Linked DNA regions of Homo sapiens: region 2 is linked to region 1. The links are contacts of gene promoters, found by promoter capture Hi-C in blood cells and fetal thymus (Javierre and others, 2016). All regions are on one chromosome and are shown on one strand. Each heading gives the region's core, a stretch centred on a gene start or on the middle of the fragment in contact. The rest is flanking DNA. Distances are from core to core; before and after follow the strand shown.

Region 1 (4,274 bases), core at 1,775-4,274:
TCTTAATTTTTTCTTGCTTATGCCCACCTCTTCCACTTGGCAGGATAATGCTGTAGTTAAAATTTCACAATTAGTAGTTTTTGTGGGTAAGTTGATAAAGGGTCAAACCCAAACATTTACAGGACCCAAGAGAGCTTTTATTCCACCTAGTGGGTAACTTTAGCAACATCCCTAATGCAACTGTTTGTTCAAATTTTACTAGTGGCCTCTTTTGTAGAGTTAGCACTCTTTGCTTTAATTTAACCCATTTCTGAGATGCTAGATGATAGAATTGCTGCGTACTAACCAAACGGGGAAATCTGTGCTGTTGCTGTCACTTCTTGTTGTACATAAATAATCTGGTATTGTAGAGACTCAGTTTCAAAAAGTTAGCAGGCTACTTGGTGAAAACAGGTAGATTTCTCATCTGGCTCATTCTTTGATCTATTTGATTTTAGTTGGTTTGGTTTATGGCAACCCTAGCTAAGAAGCATACTCCGAACTCTTGGCATTGTCCTCCTGATAGTCACAATTCTCAATTATGTTCTCTCAAAAAGTTTTACATATTTGCATACAGCCAATTGTTGAATGTCATATGGTCTCTCTTCAGCTGCAATGACAGAAATACAAAATCATGAGGACACTGTAATCTATAAATGATGTGTTGAGACTGGAAACACAGAATGATGTTAAATGAGGGTAGTGCTAATGCCCTCAGTCTTAGTCACAATTTCACCTAGGTTGTTAAATAAAAATCATGGGATGCCATTGTTTTCAACCAAATTCCTGCATCAGGCCTCCAGATCAGACTAAAAATCAAAATGGTGTCACCCATGTTCACCAAAACAAAACTGAGTTATCTGGTTTTCCAAAAAATGGTAAGAGAGATAGCCAATTTTCCAAACAGAAGTTTCAATCTTTAACAGGCATGATAATGAAATTTCCTGTTTTAATCCTTAAAATAGAATACCTGAAGTAACCCAATGTTAACCAATCAGTTTTCTTTCTACTGTTCTGTCTCCACGTCTCCACCTTAAAGAAAAGTGACTTTGATATAACCAATCTGCTTTTTGTTGTTTCTGCCTTCTTCAGTCTATTTTCTGTCTCTAAAGTTAACATCCTCTGCTTGATTCATTGCAACATTTATTCTATTTTGTGGAATGAAGTTTTGTCCAATTCTAGGAGTGCAATAATGCCAATGAGATCTTGAATCTCAATTTGTTTTACTTTTGTTTCTTGACAATGGAGAGGTTTAGGCTAGAGAGCATTTTCAAAGTCATGAGCATATAGACTTCAAGTCAACCAGTTAGATGAGATCACCTGGTGATAAAATAGAGAAGAATGCAAGGACCGAGCCCTGGAGCAGTCCAACATTTAAAGATTGAGCCAAAGAGGAGAAACCAGCATATCAAAAAGGAGGCCCAGTGAGGGAACAGGACTATCTGTGACGTGTAGGTAAGTTCAGGGGGAAAAGTGTTTCAAATCAAAGGAACCATGTCAATTATTCGCGATTCTACAGAGAGGTCAATTGAGATATGGATAGAGAATTGGCAATTGCCTTTGGAAACAAGATCATTAGTAATCTTGATAAGTGATACAGATGATGGAAGCCAAAGCTCGATCAGGGTAGACTGAGAAGTGAATGTGAAGTGAGAGGTAGGAACAAGCACTATTGGAGAGATCTTGAAAAACCTTTCTAAGAATTTATGAAGATAGCAGAAAAATAGGGCAGTTCCTAGAGGCGATTTTGGAGTCAAAGGAAGTTTATTTTAGATGGGAGAAATTTCAATATATTTATATGCTGATAGGAGCAATTCAATTGAGAGGGAAAAAACTAACGATGCTGGAGGGTAGGTAATTGTAAGAGTAAAATCCTTAGGAATGTGCGTGAAAAAAATCCGGTCACTGGTAAAGGGACTGGCCTTCCTAGGCGCAGGGACACTTCATTCATAGCAACCCAAATGTTACTATGCAGATAAGGGTGGTTTTGATGGTGAGAAGATAAGGGAGTTTATTTCTGATATCTTTCATTTTTTCCATGAGTTATGAGGCAAAGTTGATTAGTAAAAGTGGGGGTTGGGGAGGAGGTATATAGAAGGCTTTCAGTAGAGACGAAAAGGAATGAAATAATCCTTCCATCAAGTCTACTTAAATGTCAATTTAGTGGATAAAACCCTCCCAGAATTAAGTACATCTCCCAAACCCTTTCTCTCTCTCAATGACCTTTTGCTCCTTTCTGGTACTCACTAACATTTGCAATTGTATCTTTGTTCGTTCACTTCTCTGATTCCCCATTAGAGAACTACAGAAGGGCACGGACTTTGATTTCAAAATGTATATTTAGCCGTTAGCACAAGGCAAGCAGATGGTCACTAAATAAATACTTTTTTAAACAAAAATGTTAATGAACACCTTCAAAATTTTGTCTTACGCCACCTCGTTAAAATACTTGTTTGTGCAAGTCACTTTTCCTCTCTGAGCTTTCATTTCTGAATCTATACCATGGGAATTATCTCTTCCTTGCCTACCTCCCCTCGTTATCAAGAGGATCTGAGCCAATAATGATAGAAATGCTTCATTAAGGGCCCCTTAAATGTAATGGATTTCTATTTTTAGCCCACTGGTAGCCTCGCAGGTAGCAGGTGCTGAAAAAGCCTTGCTTATTGGGGGTTGGGGGACAGCATTGTTTCTGTGACCGTAGGCGTCGAAGCTATGCAGAAGCGTTCCGCGGACCGCAGAGAGATGGGGCTCAGGCCAGCATCCCTCTCGCTCCGGCCCTTCCCGGGAGGAGCTGGCCGAGCTAGGATGGGGGGCAGGGAGACCGAGGGGGCAGTAACTGTCAAACCTCGCCGCTTGGCGCCATTATTTAAATGGAACGTGCCTGTCTCGCAGCTGTACGTGCCCGGGGCGGGGCTTCGAGCGCCCTGAGCGGGGCGGAGGCTAGAGGCGGGCTGGGAAGGTGGAGGGGCGGGCCGGGGCGGGGCCAGGCCGGCTAGAGGGGCGGGTCTAGCGGCGGCCCCCGGCGAAGTTCACTGCGCTTGCGCTGACAGACGCAAGATGGCGGACAGTGCGGAACTAAAGGTAAAGCGCAGCTCGAATTCACTTCTAATATTCGGCCGCGGAGACGGCGCCGCTGCTGCCAGGGGGGATGGGTCCGACCCTGGGGGGCCTCTCGGGCCTGACTCCACCCGGGCCTGGAGTTGTAGGGAGAGAGGCGCGCCCGGTCTCAGCAGAGGGGGCCCGCCTGCGGCGGGCCGCGGGCCCCGGGTGCCTCGGGGGCGCTGACGGGTCGTCCCCGGCGTGTTATTGTTGTGGGCGCCTCTGGCGGGGGTGGCGGGGGAAGAGATAGGGAGTCCGGAGGTAGGGGCTGCAGCTGTCTCATGGGCTCGGCTTTTTCACCTTCCAGTTAGCCTCCCTGCCCCCCATGGGGAGCTGGGGCTGGGGGCAGGGTGCTCTCGTAGGGGGGATTGGGAAAGCTCCCCGTGGCCGCTTCCTCTTCCTCCTTTGCAGTCCCGGGCTCCTGTCAGGCGCTCTTCTCAGACCCCCGGGAACTTGGCTTCGGCCGCCCCGCCCCTCCGTGGATCCCAGTAGCCCCCGCCCCGGACTCGGCTTTCCCCGGCTGCTCGCTTGTCAGGAAGCGCCTGGGGTGCCCCGCTTGTGGGAAGCGCGATCCCGGGGCGATAGGGTGGGGATCTGGGGGAGAAGCTCTGGTAAAGTTTAGCGAGCCCCGGGCCGGCGTTGGGGTTCGGCTGAGAGGTAGTGAGCGGGACGTTACTCTTTCTCTCTGATTCCGGGCAGCCGAGGGGAGAAACCCCCTCGAAGAGTGTGTCTTTGGAAGCAGTGTTGGGAGGGGGGGATGCAGCTACCTCTCTCCCTTCTTTTGCCTTAGCTGGTGTGGAGGGTGAGAGGAGCCTTTGGGGGTCTCTGCACACACCATGATGGCGATGCTGTAGCTGATGGAGGTGAATGGTTCGTGTTTATATCCCCCCATTGCCTTTTGTTTGTAGGGACATCTTGCTGGCCATGTTGATTTGAACGAAATTCTCCCCTCATGCTACTCCAACCCCCGATAAATAGAACGTTCCTCTTAACAGTACCAATTACTCACGCCTCACGAAATTAGATGAAAGGGTGCCCCCTTTTCCCCGCTTTTCTCCCACCCCAATCTTTACCTGATGATGGCTTCTTTACCGTAGCAGATATACCACTACACAAGCAGTTGGGGGAGGGGGTGGTGGAACCCTTATGACTGGATTGTGACAAATGGGGCTCCGCTTGAATAATTTTGGTTTAGT
Region 2 (4,692 bases), core at 1,504-4,003, 180 kb before region 1:
TAGTATTGGAAAAAGCAACATTCTATTGGTTAAAAGGCATTCAGAAAGAATCAGTTGGGAAAGGGAGGCAAAAAGAACAGAAGTTCTCATTCTGGGTTGCAGTTTCATCCAGGACCAGCAGTCCAATCTTTCAGCCTTCAGGCTGTTTTTGGCTTTAGGTGGGGTTTCACCGGGGACCTGCCCCTGTCTGCCTAGGCTGCCCCCTGTTGCTGTCACTGTCATCCCTCCATATCCATTGGGGATGGGTTCTACGCTCCCCCTCAGGTACCAAAATCCAGGACTGCTCAAGTTCCTTATTAAAAATGGCGTAGTATTTGCACAAAACTTGTGCGCAACGTCCTGGATACTTTAAATCATCTCTAGATTGCTTATAGTATCTAATATAACGTAAATGCTATGTAAATAGTTGTTATACTGTGTGTTTTTTAAGTCATTGTATTGTTGTTGTTGAGACAAGGTCTCACTCTGTCCCTACAAGAAATTTAAAAATTAGCTGGGGCTGGGTGCAGTGGCTCACGCCTGTAATCCCAGCACTTTGGTAGGCTGAGGTGAGTGAATCATTTGAGATCAGGAGTTTGAGACCAGCCTGACCAACATGGTGAAACCCAAATTAGCCAGGTGTAGTGGTGGGCGCCTGTAATCCCAGGGACTCGGGAGGGTGAGGTATGAGAATTGCTTGAGCCTGGGAGGTGGAGGTTACAGTGATCTGAGATCATGCCAGTGCACTCCAGCCTGGTTGACAGAATGAGACTCCATCTCAAAGTAAATAAAAATTAGATGGGCATGGTGGTGTGTGCCTGTAGATCTAACTATTTGAGTGGCTGAGGTAGGAGGATTTCTTGAGCCCAGGAGATCAAGGCTGCAGTGAGCTGTGATTGAGCCACTGCACTCTAGCCTGGGTGACAGAGCAAGACCCTATCTCAGAAAAAAAAAAGACTCAATTATATTGTTGTGTAAAATATACCCACTTTAAATATAAAGATCCATATAGACTAAAAGTAAAGAGATGGAGAAGGATAAGAAAGATATACCATGCTAACACTAATCAAAGAAAGCTGGAGTAGGTATATTCAGACAGAGCAGACTTCAGAGCAAGCAAATTAAACAGGGATAGGAGGGGCATTACATAATGACAAAGGGGTTGATTCTCCAGGAAGACATAATCTTTAATGGGTATGCCCCTAACAACAGAGCATCAAAATACATGAGGCAAAAACTGATAGAACTGCAAGGAGAAATAGATGAATTCATTATTTTAGTTGGAGACTTCAATACCCCTTTGTTGAAAATGGACTGATCCAGCAGTCAGAAAATCAGTAAGGACATAGTTGAACTCAACAGCACCATCAATCAACAGGATATAATTGACATCTATAGACTACTTCATCCAAAACAGCATAATACACATTCCTCACATGTACCGTTCACCAAAGTAGACCACATTCTGGGCCACAACCTGCACCCTACCTAATTTAAAGGAACAGAAATATTACAATGTATGCTCTCAGACTACAATGGGATTAAACAGAAAGATAGCTGGAAAATCCCCCAAATACTTGGAGACTAAACAACATACTTCTAAATGACATATGGCTGAAAAAGAAATCTCAAGAGAAACCAAAAACTATTTGCAACTAAATGAAAATGAAAACTCAAATTATCAAAATTTGAGGGATGCAGTAAAAGTGCTTAGAGGGATATTTATGACATTGAATGCATATATTAGAAAAAAGTTCTAAAATTATAATTCAAGCTTTCATCTTAGAAAAAGAACAACAAATTAAATGCAAGGCAAGGAAAAGGTAGCAGATCCCATAGAAGAATGGACAGTTTATCAAGAGAAAACTTATAAAAGTGGTAACCCAAACAGGCAAGTTAAGGGAATTATTAAAAATTAAAATCATTAGTAATCAAAGAAATTCAATTTTAAACAACAATGAAATATCAGCCTTACACCTAGAAGACTGGCAAAAATTGGAAAGTTGGAAAATGTCAAGTGTTAGCAGGTAAGTGGAGATATAGTTTCCTTCACATGCTGCTGGTGGGAATGCAGATTGTCAACCATTCTGGAGAGCAGTCTGATACATTAGATATACTAGATAAATTAAATATATGCACAGCCTGGGACCCAGCAGATCTACTCCTGGGTGTATATACACTCAGGATAAGTAATCATACAGGTCCATCAGGGAATACAGATTAGAACATTGGCTGCTGTGTCAGTTCTGCTAGCAGGCAATTGGAGACAAGCAGTTGTCCATCTGGAGAGGAATAAATGGGTGAAATGTGAATGATGCATGTAGTAGAGTGCTTTAGTCTGTTTTATGCTGCTGTAACAGATACCACAGATTGGATGATTTGCAATGAGCCAAGATTTATTTCTTACATTTCTGGAGATGGGAAGTTCAAGATCATGGTGCCGGCATCTGGCAAGAGCCTTCTTGCTGCTGTATCATAAGATGGCAGAAAGCATCAGATGGCAGTAGAGCAAAGAGAGGGTTAGAGAGGGCCAAATTCACTCTTTATCTTTCATTTTTATTTTTTTGAGACAAGGTTTTGTTCTGTCACCCAGGCTAGAGTGCAGTGGCATGATAATAGCTGACTGCAGTCTTGAACTCCTAGGCTCAAGGGATCCTCCCACCTCAGCCTCCCGAGTAGCTGGGACCACAGGTGTACACCACCACACCCAGCTAATTTTTTTTTTTTTTTTTTTTTTTTGTAGAGATGGGGTCTCACAATGTTCCTCAGGCTGGTTTCGAACTCTTGGGCTCAAGCAATTCTCCCACCTCAGCCTCCCAGAGTGTTGAGATTATAGGCATGAGCCACTGTGCCTAGCCCCTAAACTTGAACTCTTGGGCTCAAGCAATTCTCCTGCCACAGCCTCCCAGAGTGTTGAGACTTTGGATTGTCTGTAATGCTCATGCATTACAGGCATGAGCCACTGTGCCTAGCCCCTAAACTCACTCTTTTATAATAGCACCAATCCCACTCATGAGATGGAAGCTGTCAAGTTCTTAAAAGTCCCACCTCTTAATACTGCTACAATAGCAATTAAATTTCAAAATAAGTTTTGGAGGGGACAAACTTTCAAACCATAGCAGATGTATACATAGCAACATGAATGAATCTTAAAAACAGCCCTCAGTGACAAAGGTAGGAAGCATAATGAGATAACTTGATACCATTTATAAATTAAAGTAGATGCACATATTTTTGTAATTTATTGTATATGTTACCAATTTTAAAAATGCATACACACAAAACTTGAAATGGATCATAAGCCTAAATCTGGAAGCTGAAACTGTAAAACTTCAAGGAGAAAACATGGGAAAATCTTATGATTTGAGGTTAGGCAAAGATTTTAGGATTAAAAAAGCATGAATGAAAAAAGAAAAATGAATGAATTGGCATCATCAAAATTAAAAGCATCTGCTTTTCAAAAGGCACCATCAAGAAAATGAAAAGACAAACTGTAGCTTGAGAAAAAATATTTGCAAAACACACAAATGATAAAGGGTTTTGTGACAGTCATCAACTTATTGCTTCTTGGCTCCAAATTCACCCTTCTTTACCTGCTCTGTGATAATGGAGGTGGGTTAAATAAATATTTTTCTTTGATACATGATGTTAAGCCAGTAGTAGGCATGGGAGGAGGAAGAAATTGTCTCTTACTCTTTCCCTTTTCCTGAAAAGGGCAGCTTCTCCAGCTCCCAGTTCTGGCAGTGCATGGTAACCTTCAGTGCCCAGCTGACAGAAGCTTCCCTCAGCATCTTCTCTAAGTGGTGTGCCACTGGCAAGGCACCTGACCATGAACGGCTTCCCCCAGCACCCCATCACCTGAAGAATTTGCAGCAAGTTTCAAGGTATGGCACTTCTCTGTGGACAACACCCCCTAGTACCCTAAAGGGAAGATTCCACTATTACACTGTGAGCCACTTCAGTGTCTTCTCCACCACCCAGGATGCCATGCTGTGCTCTCCCCAGCAGGGTCTGGAGTTCTTCCTTGGACACTCTATCCTGCTGGCAGCGGCTGTTCCCTGTATTTGCCATTCTTGCATTCATCAGAGTTCTCTATAACTCTTATGAGTCGATTTCCCATTACTCAAATCTCCTGTTATTTCTTTATGTTAAACTTTACCTGTTTTCCATTTCTTGATTGGACAGTGATACCAAATTCTATCCAGAATATATACAGAAACCTCCCAACTCAATAATAAATAAAAACACTGACTTAAAATTGAACAAAAGATTTAGAGCTGTTTACCAAATAAGATATAAAACAAACACTAACTTAAAAATAAGATATAAAACAAAAGATTTAAAGCTACTTCGCCAAATAAGATATAAGCACATAAAAAGATTCTCAACATAATTAGTCAATAGAGAATTGCATATTAAAACCACAATGAGATACCATTAACATCACAAAATGCTCAAATTTTAAAATCTTGACAATACAAGCTGAGGATGTAGAGCAACTGAAGCTCTTATTTCTTTTTCTTTTTACCTTTCCTTTTTTCTTCCCTGGGATGGATCCTGAGCAACTAGAACACTTATATATTGCTGATGGAAATGCAAAATGGGACATTGGTTTGGCAATTTCCGATAAAGTTAAATATATACTGATGTATATATCTCATTGTTTTAATATGCAATTCCTTAATGACAAATAATGTTGAGCATTTTGTTGTT

Evidence for each region. The method cuts DNA at HindIII sites, captures the fragments that hold promoters and counts their contacts. A CHiCAGO score of 5 or more calls a contact.
Region 2: a contact is called between a fragment that was not itself captured here and the fragment with the promoter of PIAS1 in region 1, in 7 of 17 cell types (M0 macrophages, M2 macrophages, M1 macrophages and 4 more). The highest score is 10.0, in M0 macrophages.

The regions. Positions count from the first base shown.
Region 1 is chr15:68,051,291-68,055,564 of GRCh38, forward strand. It overlaps PIAS1 (protein inhibitor of activated STAT 1), which reads left to right and starts at 3,025. Exons shown (of 14, transcript NM_016166.3): 1 at 3,025-3,060. The coding sequence starts at 3,037. RefSeq lists a silencer at 2,824-3,323. The HindIII fragment of the contact is 6,968 bases long and covers 1-4,274 here.
Region 2 is chr15:67,870,004-67,874,695 of GRCh38, forward strand. No RefSeq gene overlaps it. Among named protein-coding and RNA genes, the nearest start is that of RNU6-1, 32 kb to the left of the region's middle. The HindIII fragment of the contact is 2,004 bases long and covers 1,752-3,755 here.